3 separate regions of the Homo sapiens genome follow, and all the other regions are linked to region 1. The links are contacts of gene promoters, found by promoter capture Hi-C in human tissues and cell types (Jung and others, 2019). All regions are on one chromosome and are shown on one strand. Each heading gives the region's core, a stretch centred on a gene start or on the middle of the fragment in contact. The rest is flanking DNA. Distances are from core to core; before and after follow the strand shown.

Evidence for each region. The method cuts DNA at HindIII sites, captures the fragments that hold promoters and counts their contacts. A contact is called where the count stands out against the background at its distance.
Region 2: a fragment that was not itself captured here is called in contact with the fragment with the promoter of STAG1 in region 1 in 1 of the 25 tissues and cell types used here (H1 embryonic stem cells).
Region 3: a contact is called between a fragment that was not itself captured here and the fragment with the promoter of STAG1 in region 1, in 1 of the 25 tissues and cell types used here (thymus).

What each region holds. Positions count from the first base shown.
Region 1 is chr3:136,750,715-136,754,834 of GRCh38, forward strand. It overlaps STAG1 (STAG1 cohesin complex component), which reads right to left and starts at 1,664. Exons shown (of 34, transcript NM_005862.3): 1 at 1,481-1,664. It overlaps STAG1-DT (STAG1 divergent transcript), which reads left to right and starts at 1,957. Exons shown (of 1, transcript NR_185911.1): 1 at 1,957-4,120. RefSeq lists silencers at 988-1,367, 1,688-1,917 and enhancers at 1,109-2,040, 1,928-2,247, 2,041-2,972. The HindIII fragment of the contact is 8,035 bases long and covers 1-3,543 here.
Region 2 is chr3:135,903,644-135,907,763 of GRCh38, forward strand. No RefSeq gene overlaps it. Among named protein-coding and RNA genes, the nearest start is that of PPP2R3A, 60 kb to the right of the region's middle. The HindIII fragment of the contact is 3,623 bases long and covers 1-3,557 here.
Region 3 is chr3:136,030,576-136,034,695 of GRCh38, forward strand. The region is part of intron 3 of PPP2R3A (protein phosphatase 2 regulatory subunit B''alpha); the gene reads left to right. Among named protein-coding and RNA genes, the nearest start is that of PPP2R3A, 67 kb to the left of the region's middle. The HindIII fragment of the contact is 7,936 bases long and covers 1-4,120 here.

The sequences.
Region 1 (4,120 bases), core at 414-2,913:
TTCTACAACTTTATTTGGGTAACAATTTGTCTTATAAGTATTCTTAATCATCAAAAGCAAGGAAATAACATTTCTGCTTCTTTCCATTCCATATTTCCCTACTTGGTTAAAATTTTTCAGTCTGAATTCCTCATACATTATGAATATTAGAACAAGGTACGTTACATTACCATACAATAAACAAGTTATTTTTATTTTCACTCTTCTGTATATTTCCCTAAGTGCTTCACCATCGGAATGTGCAATTTTCTTAAAACACGAGGAAAACTAAAATGTAGAGTCATTCAAATTCCAGATAAGTTACAAATCACACAACTTTGTGCCAATTCAGATACTTTCTCAAGTAAACACTATTTTTGCGAAGATGCAAGTCTTTCTAGTCAGAATCACGAGAATAAACTCTATCCATCTTAACACCAACTTTAACAGCAAATAATTTTTTTTTATGACAAATTGCGTTTTTTTTTTTTGTTTTTTTTTTGTCTGTAAGTGTCCAAAACTATCCTATGACTTATACTCCCGGAGCACGATTCCCTGCAATGTGAAGAGAATCGACAGATAACATTTCAAATGTGGGTAGATGGGGGTGACGTGACAATCCTAAAACCTGAAAATTTCTTAGTACCCATACCATACAAGAAGAACCCAGTTCGGACCCTGCAAACGGGGCTCAGGTCCAACTCCAAGCACTCTAGTTTCCCACCCCGCCCCCACCTCGAGAAAGGAGGGAAAACAACTTTTATTGGCCTCGTCTCTCAGGGGACTGGCAAACTAGCGGGGCAGTGCTTAGGCCTGGACACGTTTCACAAGGAGGCCCCCGTCGGGGGCTGAGAGGGCAGATAGCTGGAAAGCCCAGCATTGATGCATCTCCCCCAGCCGCCACCCCGCTGCCCCACCCCGCCAACAAGAAGCCTGGGCCAGCCGCCCCGCCGAGCGACCCCCCAGGCCCCTCCGCTGAAATGAACTCGTTGTCATGTGACGCCGCCGCCGCTAAAACACCGCAGAAACGCAGGTCGGCAGGCGGCGGAAGGCATTCGCGCCAGCCCGCGTCGGCCCGGCCCCGCTGGGCGCGGGCGACTCCCGAGAGCCCGGGCGGGGGGGGGCGGAGGGCGGGCTTGGCGGCGGGCCCGAGCGCGCCACAAAGGCTTCCGCGCCTGTCGCCGTAGTGCCCGGGCGGGCGGGGGCAAAATTTTTGGTGCCCGCGGGAGGGGTGGCAAGCGACGAAGACGCCGGGGTGCCCACCGCGCCCACAGACGTCTCTCCGGGCACTCGGACGGCCCACGACCGCCGCACCCCGCACAGGCCCGCGCGGCCTCCCTCCCCCGCACGGGGCCCGCGCCCGGCCCGCCCGCTCGCCGCTCGCGCTCTCTCGCTCTCGCCCGGCCTCCATCTTGGATCGGCGCTTCCAGCCCCCGCGCCGCTGCCGCCGCATTCCCCCTCTTTCCCGCCCCCCGCCGCCGTCGCCGCCGCCCGCACTCACCTCAGCTGCCCATCCGGGCGCCGCCGACCATCGACCTAGTTTCCCCCCAAAAGTCTCCGGTGTGTTATTCCCGATGTGGGGGGGTTGTTACGGGGTGGTCGCCGGGGGTTCGGGAGCGGGGGCCGCGCCTTCAACGGAGCTGCAATCCTAACCCGCCATCTGGTGGCATTTTCCACACGCCAATGGCGCCGCTGCAGACTTGGGTCCGGACCGCCCTCTGCTGGCCGCGGTGCTCACTGCCTTGCTGACGGGACGGGCCTGCCCGGAAAGGGGAGGGAGCTGAGGCGCGAGCTAGGGGCCGCGGCAGGGGCGCGCGCAAACGCTTTCCAGTGGGGATTGCGCGCACGCGCACCAGCGGGGCGGGAAACGTGGCCGCTGCGTGGCGGCCCCGCCCCCACACGGAGCGCTCGCGCAGTTCAGCCAATCGCGAGAGGCGTAGGCTTCTGGATAAGGGCGCTGTGGACGGTTCTTGGGCCGCCCGCGGCTGGCGGAAGGACGGCCACGGTGGCGCCTGCGCGTCCGGCTCGCCGAGTTGCCGCCCGCCATTTTTGGAGCTTCTTGGAGATCTAGGCAGGAACCCGCCCCGGGTTCCTTCACCGAGGCTCCTCCCTAGGTCTCAGGGCCGGCGCTTTCCTCTGTTCCCGCCCGGCTCCTGCTGCCCCCATCCGCAGCTCTCGAGACGCCCTGCGGAAACCCGAGGGTGAGGCCGCGCAGATCCCTGCTCCTACTTGGATTTAGCAAGGGCCTCAGAGCTTAGCATTGTATTCGCGATTTACGGCTGACAAGCGCTTTCACCAGGCAAGAGTGAAAAGGTTTCAAAAGGACTATTGGGGACTTCCCTCGCCATTAATCTAGACGAAACACCGCCGGCCCTAGGCCGATTGGCGTCATCCTGCCTCTGTAAAGCACATCTTTCCGTGGTGTCGGCTTTGCATAAGGCGGCAGCATTGGCTAGTTTGTGAGAGGAGAATATAACTAGACTGAGAAGATAGACTCAGCTGTGAAAGTGGATTTCTCCCTCCACAACCTAGGACTACTTTCAGTAGCTCTGAAATACACATGAGAATCTTAGCCTTCTAGATGCCAAAAGAGAAATAATCAGTAAGGTGAAATCATTAACAAACTATTTATGTTTAACGTCGCCTCTTCCCTGATCTCCACCTGCCCGTCCGTGGCCATGGATCCCTACCTTTCACCTGCTTACAACTTTTCACCACAAAAGTGAATCCTTACTCTCCTGGATCATTAGCCCCATATATGACTAACTTCTCTATCGCTATAGCCAACTCTATTTCAGTATGGAATCGCTCAACTACTTTATAGTCTTAAGGGCCTGTCTCCAGTAGGTTACCCCTATTTGTGTTTTCTCTCTCAAGGGTTTGCAAGATGTGTGGCTTTTCGCTGGAGGAAGTCATAACTGACCAGATTGGATATGAATTCGTGACTGGACTCCTACTTATAATTTTCTTGCGTTTTCTTCTAATCTCTGGCTGATCTCCTATTTTCCACAAAGACTGTTTCAAGCTTTCCATGTTGTTAAAGATGCCAGTCCCAGTCCATACTAATAGATAAATTCATCCAGTTTCCTGGGCTCAGAGCTATGGGACTCCAATTCCGGTTTGACCTTGCCTCCATTATAAAATATCTGTGACCACCTCCTGTTCGTGATCCCAAAACTTCTAACCAAATTAACCCAGAACCCTTCTCTCCAAAGCCACTCCCTCTGCCTGAAACTATGCCATCCCTTCCCACCTTCTCCTTCCACCACTACTTTCCTAGCGCCTTATAATGTAAATATGTTCTTATCCACTGTCTTCTTCCTTTCTGTTTCTCAGAAGTTTCTGTTGTCTTGGCTGGGTGCGGTGGCTCACACCTGTAATACCAGCACGTTGTGAGGCAGAGGCGGGCAGATAACATGAGGTCAGGAGTTCGAGACTACCCTGGCCAACATGGTGAAACCCTGTCTCTACTAAAAATACAAACAGCCAGGCGTGCTGGTGTGCGCCTGTAATGCCAGCTACTCGGGAGGCTGAGGCAGGAGAATCTCTCGAACCCGGGAGGTGAAGGTTGCAGTGAGCCGAGATCACGCCACTGCACTCCAGCTTGGGCGATAAGAGTGAGACTCTGTCTCAAAAAAAAAAAGTTTCTTTTGTCTTTTTTTTTTTTTTAATTCAGTGATGTTACTCCCTCCAGTTGCTATGCTATCAACGTTCCTTTCATTGACACATTCTCAAAAGAAACAGTTACGGTTTTCACCAATCCCCATCCCCTACTTGAAACCCTTTTTCCCTTTCTTTTAAGACACTTCCCCGGATCTACACCTACCTAGTTTGCTGGTCTTCTGATTTCTTTGCTAGCACCTCCTCTTTCTTCAATCTGTTCTCTACTACATGCCTTCTCTTAGGTCTCCCAAAATTAGTCTGTTCTTGATTTTTCCTTAACTGAGTTTCCTCGTGTTCAGCTACTTGCCAGAAAGCTGCAGCTCAAACACTTAAAATAATTCATCTCTCTTATTTGAATTTCCTAATTTATCCTAACATTGTAATTTCAGCTAGTGTAGTGATTAAGAACATGAACTGTGAAACCAGACTGCTCTGGAAAGCTTTGTAACCTTAGACAAATCTCTTTCTGTCTCAATTT
Region 2 (4,120 bases), core at 496-2,995, 850 kb before region 1:
ATTGATTGGCCTGTGAATATGGAGAGCTATGATGGGCAAAGTACTGTTGAATTCTTATGTTTGACTGATTTTAAAACTACAGCACTTCTGATTGAAATCTTGGTTTACTAAGCTTGATGGAGTGACAAAACACCATATCGTATATGAAATTAGAGCTTTCTATTTGTCCTCCCTTCATCATCAAGGTGTCCACTTCAAATCACTTCTCTCCACTCTCTTCATTTCTATGACTTCCTCCTTTTTCCCAGCCTCCCTCTTTTCCTTCCATTATTCTCCTCTTCCATTTTTCCCCCCTTGTCTTAGTCAATCGTATTGCTATAAAGGAATACCTGAGCTGGATAATTTATAAAGAAAAGAGTTTCATCTGGCTCACAGTTCTGCAGGTTGTACAAGAAGCATGGTACCAGCTCTTGCATCTGGTGAGGGCCTCAGGCTGCTTCCACTCATGGCAGAAGGTGAAGGGGAACTGGCCTGTGCAGATCACATGGCAAGAGAGGAAGCAAGAGAGAGAGAGGGAAGGTGCCAGTTTCTTTTTAACAACCAGCTATCTTAGGGAAAATATACAACAAGAACTCATTCACTTTCCACCAGGGAGGGCATTAATCTACTCATGAGGGCTCCCCACCATGACCCAAACATTAGCCGCACCTCCCACATTGGGGATCAAATGTCAGCATGAGGTTTGGAGGAATCAAATATCCAAACCATAGCACCCACTTTCATATTTTTCCCATGGGGGAGAAAGCCCGCAACATTAGCTGACATGTAGTGAAAAGAGAATCAAACTTGGAGTAGAACTCCTTAGATTGAAATGTCAACTCTCTAGGCTTCATTTCTTTGTTTATAAGATGACTATAAGAATGTTTTTTCTCAGAATTCATAAATACTTACTTAATAGCTACAGTGCATTGAGCACTGCACTAGGCATCGGGGATACATCAGCGACCGGTAATACAGATGGTCCCAAACTTATGATGGTTCCATTTAAGATTTTTTGACTTTAGAATGGTTTATTAGGATAGTCCCATCATAAGTAGAGGAGCGTCTGTAATTATATGCCAACAACTGTGAGAGGTGCTAAGGAAGATCATACACAGTGCGATAACAGCATATAGCACGAGGGTCTGTCCTTCCAAGAGAGGGCTTAGAACTACCACAGTAAAATAAACTGAAGTGTATGACAGAACTTTGTAAACTGTAATATAATATAGAAATGTAAAGTATCGTAATTTATATTCTGATCTATTTCTCCTCTCTCTCTTTTCCTCATTTCTTTACCTTTCCTTCTTTCATTTTTTGGAACCCCAGGGTCAACTCTAGATTCTCAAACAAGGATTCATAATTACAAGATAATTATATAATCAGAAAAACTCCCAGTAAATATTCAGGGGGAATGGGATGGAATGTAGGGTATGGAAATAGAGATGAACCTTCAAGGATTCTTTAAATAAAGTTAACCTTTATTCTTTAAATAAAGTTAGCATCTATTGAGTATCCATGTCTGCCAAATGCAGTGTTAGGCACTGAAGGTACAATGAAGCTTGCATCTGGAAACAGCTGAGCACACGGTACAGTGTGTAAGTGCTTTGACTGGCGGAGAAGGAAGAGGGCGTGCAGAGCACAGAGGAGGCTTCAAAACCAGCCTGCAGTGTCAGAAGCAGCTTTACAGAGGGCACAAGGTCCAAGCTGACTCCAGAGAATAAGTAGGTAGGAGTTACCCAGTTGGTCAAACTGAGGGAAATCCATATCACCTCAAAGCAGCAACATAAAAATAGCCATGGAGCAGTAAGGACTTTAGAGGAATACAAGGAGAGCATTTCAAATAGTCTAAGGACGAGAGCTTCCTCTCTCTCCTAGAAAAGCCACAGAGGAAGAACACAAGATGGCAGTGGTGTTATGGGATTGCATGAAGCAGGGAGGCCTTGATGCATCAGACAAAAACTACAACTCACAATAGAAGTTTGCAAGAAATGGGTACTCCCTTGTCCACGGGGGGCTTGTGAAATAGAGGACAAAGCAGCAATATGTATCAAAAGCCTAAAAAATGTTCCTGGTCCTTGGCCTAGTAATTCAGTCTCTAGAAATGTAGCCTAGGTAAAGATTTTCATACAAGGATGTCTAAAATGGCATTATTTTCCAATGGTAAGGGGCTGGAAACAAGTCAAAGTCTAACACTGAAGTCATAGCTAAATGAACTATGGTACAGTAAAATAGCAGATGGCCAATTGCAATCATGCTCTTGAATAGCATTTAATGATGAAGAAAATACTTGTAATATTAAGTACAAAAAATAGGATCTGAAACTACATAGACAGTATAGTTCATATTTTATTTAAAACTTATCTATAGATGTATGTACATGTGTATGTGTATGTAAAGAAAAAAGACTGGAAGGAAAAATAAAATGTTGGCAGTGGTGGAATTACATGCAGTTTTTATGTTATTCTTTAAGCTTTTTCTAATTTCCAAATTTATAATATTCTAGCCTGAATTTATAATAAACATTATAGAAGAAAATATTAACAGTCTGTCTCTAAGAAATTAGATGAAAGTTGATTTGTTAAATTCTTTATGCTTTCCAAAATATTTTCCCAAATTTCATGCTATTGCTCTTTCTTCTTTTTTTCTTTTTTTTTTTTTTTAGAGACAGGGTCTCACTCTATTGCCCAGGCTGGAGTACAGTGGGGCGATCTCAGCTCACTGCAGCCTCCACCTCCTGGGCTCAAGCAACCCTCCCACCTCAGCCTCTGGAGTAGCTGGGACCACAGGCAAGTACCACCACGCCTGGCTAATTTTTTGTATTTTTGTTAGAGTAGGGTTTCACTGTGTTACCCAGGCTGGCTATTGCTTTTTAAAAGAAACCAATGAAGAAACTTTTTTACTAGGAACCCAGAATGCTTAGAGAACAAGCTGCTATTTTAGGGATTAGTGATTAAGACACCTGCTGGGGACAGATGTCAGCTTAGCAGAGAATGATATGGGGGCTCCCTCCATGTCCCCAGAACAAGAGAACCTCCTATTGCCTTTCTACCTTTTCTGCTCCATGCATATACATTTGAGAATGAGAACTAGCCAAGGCTTTTGACCTTGATCTTTAACCTGAAGTTTTAACTCTGTTATGCCATTTCTCTGTAACCTAACATTAAGAGGTTTTACAAGTGGGTGGGCAAAGCCAGCCCATTAAGCTTGGAAGACACTTCCTAGAGAGCTGGGAGAGGATACTTCACATGAAGGAGAACTTTCCAAAATAAGTACTCAAATCCTTTTGTAAAAGTATCTCCTCACCATTCATTTTTTTACACCAAATTAATTAACAATTTTTCAGCAAGCACAACCCTGACAGGTAGGTATTTGGAGCCTAGGTCACTTCCCCTGTCTTTCCTTCTCCTTGGTGTATTTGTTGTGCTGTATGGAGCTTGAAAGGCATTCCCTTGTTAGAAGAGACAGAAGTGGCCAGGAGTGGTGGCTCATGTCTGTAATCCCAGCACTTTGGGAGGCTGAGGCAGGTGGATCACTTGAGGTCAGGAGTTTGAGACCAGCCTGGCCAACATGGTGAAACCCCGTCTCTACAAGAATATAATAATTAGCTGGGTGTGGTGGCACATGCCTGTACTCGGGAGCTACCGTACTCGGGCGCCTGTACTCAGGCCAGCTACTCCCTCGGGGGACTGAGTGAGGAGAATCACTTGAACCCAAGAGGTGGAGGTTGCAGAAACTCGAGATGGTGCCACTGCACTCTCTAGGCGAGAGAAAAAAGAAGAGACAGAAGTAACACCAGGAGAGTGTAATTCTCTGTTGGTCTTTATCATTTGCAAATATTGCACTAAATTTCCCTAACAGCAAGCCTACAACTTCCATGTTCTTCTTGCTCCATCAGGGCTTTTTAAAATCCCTTTTGCTTGTCTTTAGCCTTTCTGTTTCCTCCACAAGCTTTGGCTTGTTCTGATTGTTAGCCTTCCTGACACTCTTCTCATGGTATGACAGGCCTGGGCCAGCCATCGATTTCCATTGCACCCCATTCCTACAGGATTCTGTTTACCTCACTGTGTAAAAATATAAATACATTTTGTTCCCCAGATTTTGCACCTTTGTACATAGATCTCAAAGCTTTTTGCACACT
Region 3 (4,120 bases), core at 951-3,450, 720 kb before region 1:
AAAGTCCATTGTGTCATTCTTATGCCTTTGCATCCTCATAGCTTAGCTCCCACTTATGAGTGAGAACATATGATGTTTGGTTTTCCATTCCTGAGTTACTTCACATGGAATAGTCTCCAATCTCATCCTGGTCACTGCGAATGCCATTAATTCATTCCTTTTTATGGCTGAGTAGTATTCCATCACATATATATATATATATATATGTATGTATGTATGTATGTATGTATGTATGTATGTATGTATGTATACACACACACACACACACACATGCCCCAGTTTATCCATTTGTTGATTGATGGGCATTGGGTTGGTTTCACATTTTTGCAATTGCGAATTGTGCTGCTATAAACATGCATGTACAAGTATCTTTTTTTACAGTGACTTCTTTTCCTCTGAGTAGATACCCAGTAGTGGGATTGCTGGATAAAATGGTAGTTCTACTTTTAGTTCTTTAAAGAATCTCCACACTGTTTTCCATAGTGGTTATACTAGTTTACATTCCCACCAGCAGTGTAGAAATGTTCCCTGTTCACTGCAGCCATGCCAACATCTACTGTTTTATTTTGTTTTGTTTTTTCAGGGGTAAGGTGGTATCACATTGTGGTTTTGCAGGGGTTAAGGTTCTTCTTGGAGGGGTAAGGTGGTATCGCATTGTGGTTTTGATTTGCATTTCCCTGATCATTAGTGACATTGAACATTTTTTATATGTTTATTGGCCATTTGTATATCTTCTTTTGAGAATTGCCTATTCATGTCATTAGCCCACTTTTTGATGGGATTATTTTTTTCTTGTTGATATGAGTTCATTGTAGATTCTGGATATTAGTCCTTTGTCAGATGTATAGATCTTGAAGACTTTTTCCCACTCTGTGGGTTGTCTGTTTACTTGCTGACTGTTCCTTTCACCATGCAAAACCTCTTTATTTTAATTAAGTCCTAGCAATTTATCTTTGTTTTTGTTACATTTGCTTTTGGGTTCTTGGTCATGAAATCTTTGCCTAAGCCAATGTCTAGAAGGGTTTTCCCATTGTTATCTTCTAGAATTTTTATAGTTTCAGGTCTTAGATTTAAGTCCTTAGTCCATCTTGAGTTGATTTTTGTAAAAGGTGACAGACGAGGATCAGTTTCATTCTCCTACATGTGACTAGCCAATTATCCCAGCACCATTTGTTTGAAAAGAGTATGCTTTCCCTGCTTTATGTTTTTGTTTACCTTGTCAAAGATCAGTTGGCTGTAAGTATTGGGCTTTATCTCTGTGTTCTCTATTCTGTTCCACTGGTCTATGTGCCTATTTTTATAACAGTACCATGCTGTTTTGGTGACTATGGCCTTATAGTATAGTTTGAAATCAGGTAATGTGACACCTCTAGATTTATTCTTTTTGCTTAGTCTTGCGTTGGCCATGCGGGCTCTTTTTTGGTTCTATATGAATTTTAGAATTGTTTTTTCTAATTCTGTGAAAAATGTTGATGGTATTTTTATAGGAATTGTGGTGGGAATTGCATTGAGTCTGTAGATTGCTTTTGGCAGAATGGTCATTTTCACAATATTGATTCTACCCATCCATGAGCATGGGATGTGTTTCCATTTGTTTGTGTCATCTGTGATTTCTTTCAGCAGTGGTTTGTGGTTTTACTTGTAGAGGTCTTTCACCTCCTTGGTTAGGTATATTGCTAAGTATGTTTTTTGTTTGTTTGTTTGTTTTTTGCAGCTGTTGTAAAAGGGGTCGAGTTCTTGATTTGATACTCAGCTTGCTCGTTGTTGGTGTATAGAAGAGCTACTGATTCGTGTACATTAATTTTGTCTTCGAAAACTTTGCTGAATTATTTTATCAGTTCCAGGAGTTTTCTGGAGGAGTTTTTAGGATCTTCTGGGTAAACGATCATATCATCAGCAAACAGCGAGAATTTGACTTTCTCTTTTTTTTTTTAATTAATTAATTTATTTATTTATTTTTTTTTTTTCCTGAGACGGAGTCTCGCTCTGTCGCCCAGGCTGGAGTGCAGTGGCTCAATCTCAGCTCACTGCAGACTGCAAGCTCTGCCTCCCGGGTTGACACCATTCTCCTGCCTCAGCCTCCCAAGTAGCTGGGACTACAGGCACCCACCACCATGCCCAGCTAATTTTTTGTGTTTTTAGTAGAGACGGGGTTTCACCATGTTAGCCAGGATGGTCTCGATCTCCTGACCTCGTGATCTGCCCGCCTCGGCCTTCCAAAGTGCTGGGATTATAGGCGTGAGCCACCACACCCGGCCGACTTCCTCTTTATTGATTTGGGTGCCCTTTATTTCTTTCTCTTGTTTGATTGCTCTGACTAGGACTTCCAGTACTATGTTGAAGAAGAGTAGTAAGAGTGGGCATCCTTGTCTTGTTCCAGTTCTCAGAGGGAATGCTTTCCACTTTTCCCAATTCAGTATTATGTTGGCTGTGGGCTTGTCATAGATGGCTTTTATTACATTGAGGTATGTCCCTTGTATGCCAATTTTGCTGAGAGTTTTCATCATAAAGGGATGCTGGATTTTATCAAATGCTTTTTCTCCATTTATTGAGATGATCATGTGATTTTGGTTTTTAATTCTGTTTTTGTGGTGTATCACATCTATTGACTTGCATATGTTAAACCATCCCTGCATCCCTGATATGAAACCCACTTAATCATGGTGGATTATCTGTTTGATATGTTGTTAGATTCAGTTAGCTAGTATTTTGTTAAGGATTTTAGCATCTGTGTTCATCAGGGATATTGGTCTGTAGGTTTTTGTTTGTTTGGTTGGTTATGTCCTCCTTTCCTGGTTTTGGTATTAGGGTGATGCCGGCTTCATAGAATGAATTAGGGAGGGTTCCCTGTTTCTCTGTCTTGTGGAATAGTGTCAATAGGATTGGTACCAATTCTTCTTTGAATGTCTGGTAGAATTCGGCTGTGAATCCGTCTGTCCTTGACTTTTTTTGTTGGTAATTTTTAAACTACCATTTCAATATCACTGCTTGTTGCTGGTCTGTTCAGGGTATCTAATTCTTCCTGATTTAAGCTAGAAGGGTTGTATCTTTCCAGGAATTTATTCATCTCTTCTAGGTTTTCTAGTTTATGTGTGTAAAGGTGTTCATAGTAACCTTGAATGATCTTCTGTATTTCTGTGGTGTCAGTTGTAATATCTCCTGTTTTGTTTCTTATTGAGCTTATTTGGATTTTCTCTCTTCTTTTCTTAGTTAGTCTTGCTAATGGTCTATCAATTTTATTTATCTTTTCAAAGAACTAGCTTTTTGTTTCATTTATTTTTTGTATTTTTTTTCTTTTGTATTATTTTTTTCAATTTCATTTAGTTCTGCTCTGATCCTGGTCATTTCCTTTCTCCTGCTGGGTTTGGGTTTGGTTTGTTCCATTCTTGTTTCTCTAATTCCTTGAGGTGTGACCTTAGATTGTCTGTTTGTGCTCTTTCAGACTTTTTTTCTTTTTCTTTTTCTTTTTTTTTTTTTTTGAGACAGAATCTCTCTCTGTTGCCAGGCCGGAGTGCAGTGGCGTGATCTTGGCTCACTGCAGCCAGCACCTCCTGGGTTCAAGTGATTCTCCTGCCTCAGCCTCCTGAGTAGGTGTGACTACAGGTGCGCACTACTACACCCAGCTAATTTTTGTATTTTTTAGTAGAGACAGGGTTTCACCATGTTTGCCAGGATGGTCTCGACCTCTTGACCTCATGAACCACCGACCTCGGCCTCCCAAAGTGCTGGGATGATGGGCGTGAGCCACTGCGCCCAGCCCAGACTTTTTGATGTAGGCGTTTAGGGCTATGAACTTTTCTCTTAGCATTGCCTTTGCTGTGTCCCAGAGGGTTTGATAGGTTGTGTCACTATTGTCATTCAGTTTGAAGAATGTTTTAATTTCCATCTTGATTTCATTTTTGACCCAGTGATCATTCAGGAGCAGGTTATTTAATTTCCATGTATTTGCATGGTTTTGAGGGTTCCTTTTGGAGTTGATTTCAGGTTTTATTCCACTGTAGTCTGAGAGAGTGCTTGATATAATTTCAACTTTCTTAAATGTATTGAGGCTCGTTTTGTGGCCTCTTCTATGGTCTATCTTGGAGAAAGTTCCATGTGCTGTTGAATAGAATGCATATTC